Regions from separate parts of the Homo sapiens genome. Here region 1 is linked to region 2. The links are contacts of gene promoters, found by promoter capture Hi-C in human tissues and cell types (Jung and others, 2019). All regions are on one chromosome and are shown on one strand. The core of a region is centred on a gene start or on the middle of the fragment in contact, and the rest is flanking DNA. Distances in the headings are between cores, read along the strand shown. Region 1 overlaps NOS1AP (nitric oxide synthase 1 adaptor protein). Region 2 holds the start of SH2D1B (SH2 domain containing 1B).

Evidence for each region. Contacts are between HindIII fragments. The study calls those that stand out against the background at their distance.
Region 1: a contact is called between a fragment that was not itself captured here and the fragment with the promoter of SH2D1B in region 2, in 1 of the 25 tissues and cell types used here (H1 embryonic stem cells).

What each region holds. Positions count from the first base shown.
Region 1 is chr1:162,355,821-162,360,477 of GRCh38, reverse strand. It overlaps NOS1AP (nitric oxide synthase 1 adaptor protein), which reads right to left. Exons shown (of 10, transcript NM_014697.3): 8 at 3,342-3,518. Among named protein-coding and RNA genes, the nearest start is that of MIR556, 16 kb to the right of the region's middle. RefSeq lists a silencer at 2,509-2,731. The HindIII fragment of the contact is 9,689 bases long and covers 1-4,657 here.
Region 2 is chr1:162,409,380-162,414,172 of GRCh38, reverse strand. SH2D1B (SH2 domain containing 1B) reads left to right here and starts at 2,037. Exons shown (of 4, transcript NM_053282.5): 1 at 2,037-2,290. The coding sequence starts at 2,157. The HindIII fragment of the contact is 14,665 bases long and covers 1,310-4,793 here.

The DNA of each region.
Region 1 (4,657 bases), core at 890-3,389, 54 kb after region 2:
AACACTTGCCAATCAGCCACAGTGCCCAGATCAGTTCTGAGACTATGTCGGCCCAGCCCATGGCCATGCAGGTGCCAGCTACATCCCAGCTTCGCTTCGAGGCTTAGCTATACTCTCATTCACACCCTTGAACTTCTGGTCCACCTAAAAGCAGGAAGCTAGTGCAGCCAGGCAAGCCTCATGCTGGGTCGGAAGAGCGGTCAGAGGGACTTGGGTATTCACTACTTACCCACTGAGGTCTAACCCGGAAATACTTAAGAGTTGGTTGAATACCACCTTTGCCCATATACCTTTAAGGTCAGGGCGGGCCCCTTTGAGACCAGCTCAGAACCAATTTAGGGTGAGGCTGGGAGAGGTCTTGCGGTCTTAGACCAAATCAGGACACTGTGAAGGAAACCTAAGCCTGGTCCCCATGGCAACAGCAGAACTAGACTAGTCTGTGGGAAGAAATGGGGGTGGTGGGGGGGGGACGACATAAATAGTGCAACAAGTGACATCAAGGGTACACTTGTCTGCAAGAAACTGTCTTTATCCTTAGATTTTTATCCAGGAACAACATAGGAGGATTTGGATGCTCTCCGAGAGAAGGAAACTATTCCCACCTGAAAGGCTGAGGTCATAGTTTTACTCACTGGAATTCTGGGGACTGCTGGTAGTTTAATAAAGACAGACAGAAGCCTTGCAGTTTGGTGGCAATAGAGTCTGACAGAACAAGTAAGAGCTGACCTCGTGCTGGAAACTGAAATCAGCCCCCCCCCGCGTAGAGAAACCAAGCTTGCTATACTTGGTCTATTTCAAATGTGTGAAAGATGCCAAGAAGACCCACCTATTAATCCAGCTACATCTTACGTAATTGTTTTTACCCAAGGATATAGACACTAGTAAAAAAGCCCTTGAATTAAACACTACAAAGAAAGTGGAAGAATGAACAGTGTGCGGAGAAACCTCTAACTGAAGGTCAGTTTAGGACCGAATCCGTCTGCAGGACAGGAGAGCTGAAAGCCAGCTGAAATGTACAATATCCCTGCTGTGGTCCTGGACAGCAAAAGCAAGATGCGAACAGAAAGAAGGTAGTCAGAGACAGATGGGCATGGCAGACAGAGGTACAGGAGTATGTTCAAGAACCTATCAGATGACCCCAACGTCCTATCTGATGATTTTGGAAGCCTAAGACTCTCCCTAAAGTCATCTCACAAATGTGGGACACAGATGCAGTATGGTGGCCTTTTGATCACCACACTGCTTGTATTGAGAGTCAAGCAGGGCAACTATATTCAACAGATTCCAAGTGAGTGAGAGGCTAAGGGTGCTCAGCCTGTGGACATGTGGAACCGAGAGAGGCTCATGAAGCAAATCTCTAATACCACACCCTTTCCTTCCCCTAGATTCATTGTCTTCTAGGAGAGACACAATTAAAACAGGGCCAGGGCAGGATTTCCCATGGAGACTGACAATTGATTCTATACCAGAAAACTACTCTTAAGGTTTCATCCTGACTGTAGTAGACCTGTGATAAGTTACATGTCTTGTTGCTTTGGAGATTGAATGCTTCCTTCCACCGCCACAACACTATTGTGTGGATTACACATTTGCAAATAGTTTCTCTCTAGTACTTAGCAGTGACTTCGAATTCAAATGCCTCCCTGATAAAATCATATCATGAATATGCATCAAGCCCACTCTTAGATAAATAATAATTACTTGGCAATTGATACGCTGCAAAATAAAAGTATTATGTTCTGTATTCAATGGGAAACTTGTGGAAATGAAATGAGTCTGAGAATGGACCCGTGCTGCAGTGCTTAGTCTTTGTGCTCCTGTCAACTGTCACACTAGGGAGGGGATTCTCAGACTGCTGTGCCATCATTAACTACAGGAGATGGATTCTTTTATTTGACAAAGAGAAATGATTTTTTTTCTCCAAATATAAGAAGCCATTAATGACATTCCCCCTCTCTGTTGCTGTTTTGGGAACACCTGCAAATCCTCCTAGCATCACGAGATATCCTTTTGTTTCATGGTAAGACTTTTTAAAAAGACTCCGATAACTTGAGAGCTGTGTCCCATTGACTCTACTCTCCTGAAACCTGGCTGCAAAAGTCATCCATGAGCCTTGCATCTCAGGCCCAGGTCAGGAGAGACCGTGTTACAAGAAGGTCTTCTTCAAACCCTGAGTCATAGCAGATCCTGTTATGGCCAGGACGCCGGATGCCTCCTCAAGGTGGAAAGGTGGAAAGGATATCTCTGGCTGGATGATTCAGTCCACTCAAGAGCCAGGACAAGAGTAAGCAGAAGACATAACAGAGAGCAATAAGTGCTCCCTGGAGAAGTCTGCTCCCCGCCATTCTAGAATGCAGAAAACCTAAGTGGTCAACAGTCTGGTCAAGCAGATTTAGAATGTTGATGCAGGCTGCCTTTCCAGATCCTTTACCAATTCTTCCAAGCCCCAACTGCCCCGTCTCCTAAGATCTTCATGCACTCATCAGGCCCTGACCCTGCCTCTCGCCTCAGGATTCAGCCTTGGGTATGAATGAATGTCTTCACCATTCCCTGAGTGCTGGTGGTAGAGAGGGAGCTCAGACTTCCCAAGAAAGATGTGGACTACAGCGCCCTCTATAGAAAGCAAACAAGAAGAATCCCTGCTGAAAGCAGCAAGGGAAATCAGCTCACCCTCCCCTATAATGTAGCAGCCCCCGAACAAGTTTTTTGGGGTACAAACACCACCTTGATTCTGAGATCTAAGCCAATTCTTTTCATTATGGCTCAAATAATACACCTAAATTCCTGTAAGTTAAATCCTACAATAATGAATTCCAATCAAATACTGCCTGGAATAAGTAGATCGTAATGAAGGCTGGGAAACCTGTTATAGACACGGAGACTGGGATGCTAGGGTAGTAATCTTTTTACAACAGTGTTTGGCACAAATTCATACTTTAAGCTGTTTTAAGAGTGGTATCATAAAGCCACAACTGTTCTGACTCCAAAGGCATCACTTTCCACCCCAAATATCAGGAAAGTAAGGCAGGAAAGGAAGGGTGGAATTGTGTGCATCTTTTCCCTTGGTCAGTTCAAGTCATTAACAACATTCAGCCAAGCCAGCCAAGCCCAGCTCAGAGCAGGGGATACATGGGAAACCAAAATGTGCCTCTCCATTTCAACTGCATCCCCCATCTATCCCCCTCCCGCTGCCCCCACTCCCCAACAAGCAATGATCCAATAGCATGAGCGATTCCTTATGACTCCCTAGATTTTAAACCTGCCCTGAGCCCCTCGCTAGGGAAGGTGCATCAAGCCCATGAGAGTGGAGCCTGCGAAGTAGGGAGGAGGCTGAGGAGAACCTGGGCCACAGCCACTTGTGTCTGCTGCTGCTGCTGCTGGAGGAGCTGCTGGAGGAGCTGCATCTGGTGGTGAGTGGACAGCGGTGTCTCTGTGCCCAGGCCTGGAGGCTTCGAGGAAGAAGAAGGGAGCAGCATCCTGGGTGAGGCTGTCAGCATGGGCTCCTGGGGGTGCGAAACCTGGAGGAGAAGGAGAAGACAGGACATGACATGTGGCAGGAGCCATCTTGAGGGGCCTCCCTCTCTTTGGCATGCACTCAGGAGGAGCAAATTGGCACACTTACAACCCATAAGCTGACAGCACTATATCTTCAATGGAAATGGGAGTAGAGGCCCAGAAAGGAAATGGTGTAGCTGCCTGGGCTGATACCACACAGTCAGAAAATCGTAGGGGGACTAGGGGGACACCTCGGTAACTGACCCCGATGGGAGACTGATGGCTGATACTGCTCCATCTCTTGCCCACCACTTCCAATGATACCCTGTCACTGAGTTCCTTGAGGTTCTAGACTTAGAAGAATCTATTTTAGGAAAACGTAGCTTCCATCCACCCTACCATGATAACAGGAAGGACCCAGCTTCAATCCTCTACTCTGCTGTGTCCTTAGGGCTCCCTCCTCCAGGGTCTGAGATGTTCCTTCTCCCTTGTTGGGAGAAGCGTGGAGCTGGGTCCTGGAGGAAGGGGCCATGTGAGGGGGCTACCTCCTGCCCTCCACTGCCTCTGGTGAGAACCATCGGCAAAGAAGTTTGGATCCTAAAATATATAATGATCTGGAGAGATCCTCTTAGATGAAAGAAGTTCCTGTGTCCTTCCCTCCTTTCCTTCTGTCTCCCTCTCCTGTGGACATTTTTACCAAGATGGCTTCTACGATTCATAGAATTCCATGGCAGGGAAAGACATTTTGTTTCTGGCAGTTCTGCTGTGGGGACTTCTTCAGACATACACAAGGAAGGCCCCCAGTGACACAGGGCTGTTTCCACTTGTAGAGGATAAACTGGTTCCAAAGGAAACGTCAGGCAGCTAGTTTAGAACTGAACTGCCCTCCAAACCTCCATGTGAGATAAGATATGAATGTTAAAGAGAGAGAGGTGCCCTGATATAAACCGCCTGGGAATCTAAGGGTAGAGCTATTGGTCAGTAATTTTGCTTCTGGGTTTAAAACATTTTTAATTAGCTTTGGCTTCAGGTTGGAATTTGATCTCAAGTTCTTAGTTTCTTAATTGGATCACATTAGGAACCCCCAGATGCCACAGTCATCTCACCTATATGATGTTAGGTTAGAGCTGATGAAGACTAAGGTGGTCTCTCAGTTTCTGAC
Region 2 (4,793 bases), core at 788-3,287:
TAGCTAGTCATGGTGGCACGTGCCTGTAGTCCCAGCTACTTGGGAGGCTGATGTGGGAGAATTGCTTGAACCAGGGAGGCAGAGGTTGCAGTAAGCCGAGATCACACCACTGCACTCCAGACTGGGTAACAGAGTGAGATTCTGTCTCAAAACAAAACAAAACAAAAAACCAACAACTCTACAGCAAGTTTTACTGAGAGAAGTCTCACCTCTATGCATGTTTCCGCTCTCCTCTTAGAGGCAGAAGTTTTTAGTTTTAATTAGTTTTAGTTTTGTTCTTCCAGTGGGTGTTTCGTTTGTTTTTTAAATATGAGCAAATATTATAAATGTATATATTTATTTATATCCCCCATACTCTATATACTATTGTGCATCTTGCTGCTTTCACCTAAAAATACATCCTGAAGATTATTGCATATCAGCATATAGAGATCTTCCTCAATCCCATTTTATTATTCTATAGTAATATTCCATTGTATACATGAATCACAGTTTATTCACCTGTCCCTCTATTCACAAGTCTTTGAGTTGTTTGTAATCTTTTTCTATTAAAAAATACTACCTTATTCACAAGTCATTTTCTAATTCTGCCTGTGTAGTTTTGTGACAGATTTCTAGAACTGAGATTGTTCTATCAGATGGTGAAGGCATACATAAATTTGCAAGATATTGCCAAACCATCTTTTACTATAGTTGTAACTATTTTTTATTCCAACTAATGATATACAAGATATTCTATTTTCTTTCACCATGACCAACCCAATAAGCTTTCAAACTTTTGATTTTCACCCATATGATAGGTGAGAGTTGTTATCTCAGCATGCAGGTAATTTGCATTTCTTTTATTGTGAGGGTTGGATTTTGAAACAGCAAAAAGGGCAAGGAAGCCCCTGTGATGACCAAGAGCCTGAGCATGCTTTCAGTTATTTCCTCTCTTATGTCAAAAAGCATCTTTACACCACGATTGTGAATTTATTCACAAGAAATACCAAATTTCTTCTTTCATTATTAACAACTCTGTCTTCAACTGCCATAGTTTCCAGAGAATTGAATAATGAATTGTCCAAAACCACAGAAGAAAAGTTGCTATTTGAGAGCATATCTGTCTGATAACGAGTTCCCTGATCAGTGAAACTGCACTATGCCAAATGCAGAGTGGGAATTCCAAGGAAGAACAAAGATCTGTTACAAGGAAGTTCCATAGAAGATACACCCAACTGTGAGTAAACAGCTGGTAAGCAAAGTAGCAAGGTGAAATAAACATCTAGGTTAAGAAGAAGTTAAGATCTCCAGGTACTACGGAGATGAAGAAAACAAAAAAAAGAAGAAGTTAAGAGAAGTAAAGATGAATCGTTAGCACATAGTTCTATTTTCATAGATAACATTTTTGAGATATATATAGTGATTTTCTGTAGATATATGAGTATACCCAGATATCCCTCCCACCTACACCAGCCCTTTCTCCAAAAGGAACAATGCTTGAGGGTGTTCAAATGGCCTTTTTTCACCAGTGGCTGGGAGCCTTAGCCATGGAATGGGCTGTCCTCATCCACAGTGTCCCACTGTTTTTTATTGCCATTAATGTCTTCCATTTTTAGTGTCATTTGATCCACGGAAATCCCACCCTTTCAATTTTCCCATTGTATCTGAGCATATCAATTCTCTCAGCATCCAAATGGTTTTTGAGCACCCAGTCTAAGCTAAGCATAGCCCAATCCTAGGCAACTTCAGCAGAAAATGGGTACCATTACAGCAAAAGCAGCGGTGTGCTTCCTGGAAAGGATACCAGTAGCCAAAGAAGTTGATGATAGTCCATGGTAATATACAAGGCTGCAACACAGTTCCAGGAAGCTTGACTTCAGCATTGCCTCCCTAGCCATGAGCATCACTGATTCCATTGTGTGTTTAAATGTGCTTTACCTACTTCTGTGAGTCACATGTGGGCCATTTAGAGGGTGAAAAGTGTTGGTCATTTTATCACCCCGCCCTCCTCATTTCCTGAATCTTGTGAAGCTGGCTGAGTCCCACAGACCGCTAGAGGAAGAGGTAGCTCCACAGGAGGTACAGCTGCTTACACATCTCTCCTCAGAGCTGTCCCTTGACTTGGGGGTGAATTTCAGGCCAACAGGGCTTCCTGGGATACAAGAGCGTTCTCCATGGATCTGCCTTACTACCATGGACGTCTGACCAAGCAAGACTGTGAGACCTTGCTGCTCAAGGAAGGGGTGGATGGCAACTTTCTTTTAAGAGACAGCGAGTCGATACCAGGAGTCCTGTGCCTCTGTGTCTCGTGAGTAGCCTCATCTTGCACACATCTGACATCGTATGTTGAATGTGGCAATGGCTGCCACACAGTACAGGAATTCATATCCCTCAGTATTTCACTCTGACTTTGGAGTCTCAATGAGTAGAATGAGAAGTAATGGACACTGCCAGGAGAGGAATGTATCTGTCCATGCTCCTCCATCTGCCTGCTCTCCCTGGTGTAAAGGCCCTGCAAGCAGACTCTGCAGCAGCAGGAGGGACATGGTGGTGGTGAAGGGAAGGGCTGCAGGAAGTACAGGGGTACAGAGGGATGGAAAGAAGGTACAAATGTCAGAGGTCCTGTCCTCCAGAGATCTGTTTATTTGGTATGGAAAAGGCTAGGGGTTCTTCAAGAAATTTCAATCTGAAACACTTATTCTGCAGCATCTGCTTGCAATACGTAAACTATAAATACAATCATATTTCACATTTTGTTAGATTTGTGAAGGACTTCAATATTCGTCATTTCCTTTCATCCTAGTAGTCTATCAAGGCAAGCATAAGCAGTCACCATTTCATAGGTAAAGAAACAGAGACCTGAATTTCTCAAATAATTTGTTTGTGTTAAAACTCATTTGGAATTTCCAGAGTCTAAGTTAAACATGAAATTCCAGGCTGGGCATGGTGGCTCATGCCTGTAATCCCAACACTTTGGGAGGCTGAGGCAGGTGAATCACTTGAGGTCAGGAGTTTGAGACCAGCCTGGCCAACACGGCAAAACCCCATCTCTACCAAAAATACAAAAATTAACCTGGTGTGGTGGCGTGTGCCTGTAATACTGGCTACTTGAGAGGCTGAGACAGGAGAATCACTTGAACCCAGGAGGCAGAGGCTGCAGTGAGCTGAGATTGCACCACTGCACTCCAGCCTGGGCAATAGAGTGAGACTCTGTCCAAAAAAAAGAAAAAAGAGTGGCTGGGCACAGTGGCTCACTCCTGTAATCCCAGCACTTTGGGAAGCGGAGGCAGGTGAATCACCTGAGGTCGGGAGTTCGAGACCAGCCTGACCAACACGAAGAAACCCCGTCTCTACTAAAAATACAAAATTAGCCAGGTGTGGTGGCGTATGCTTGTAATCCCAGCTATTTGGGAGGCTGAGGCAGGAGAATCACTTGAACCCGGGTGGTGGAGGTTGCAGTGAGCTGAGATTGTGCCATTGCACTCCAGCCTGGGCAACAAGAGCAAAACTCCATCTCAAAAAAAAAAAAAAAAAGAAAAAGAAAAACAAATTCCAGGCCACAGTATCAAAGAGACCTAGCTGAAGGAACTTGTTTATGCCCAGTTTAGAAAGCAATCCTGAACAGAAATCACTAGAAACCTCCTATCTTTATGTATGTTCCTCTTTGTAAAGTAGGGACCACTGAACCTTTTATTATACCTGTAACAGAAATTAAAATCCAAATGTCTCTTGTTAAAGAAAAAAATTACTCAATGTCACTTGTTAAATTATGGTTGGGAAGACTTTATTCAGGATCATCACAAAGGTACAGGGACCACTGCAATGAGCTCTTGCGGCACAGAAAAGAGACTGGACTCAACTCTGAATCCAGCATGGACAAGTGGGAATTTATGGCCAAGGAGCAGTGTGGCTGTCGGTAGACAGAAAATTACTCGGAGGAAACATCAGGGGTAAAGTGGATTCTGGCTAAACCAGCCTAACAGAATTGTAGCTGAAGACAGGCCCGGGTGATCAGATGTTGCCTGGGGGATGGTGGAGGATGAGGAATCTGATCAGAATCCAACAGTGATCAGATAGCTAGGGTGAGGGGTCCTTGCCAAACTGACTTAGTAGGGTTCTTTGCTAAAACTGGATTTTACAAGGAAGTACACAAATGGGCCTTGGAATAGGCTCAGAAGTCTGATTATAGACAAAAGTGATTGTCATTACTAATAGAATACACAGGGACATATTTCTTTCTTTAAATGGTACTGGAGATACAGGCTATTTCTCTCATATCTACATCCAACAGTACCATTTAAAGAAAAATATATATTGGCCAGGCGCGGTGGCTCATGCCTGTAATCCTAGCAATTTGGGAGGCTGAGGTGGGCTGATCACTGAGGTCAGGAGTTCAAGACCAGCCTGGCCAACATAATGAAACCCCCATCTACTAAAAATACAAAAATTAGCCAGGCATGGTGGGTGCAGTTGTATCCCAGCTACTTGGGAGGCTGAGGCATGAGAATCGCTTGAACCCAGGAGGCAGAGGTTGCAGTGAGCCGAGATCGCGCCATTATACTCCAGCCTGAGAGACAGAGAAAGACTCTCCATCTCAAATAAAATAAACAAAGAGTGGAAAAGATCTGCTTACATGTAAATGGGATGGAGGGCATTTTAGGAAGGGGAGGAGGTAGGAACAGGAGTCTAGAAGTGGGATATTTTAAAGGATTTACATACAAGGTTCCTAAAATGTAGTTTGGAAACCAGCTTTTGGAAAAGGAGGGTGGGATAAGATCATGGAGTTTTAAAAGAATGGTTCTATAGATAAC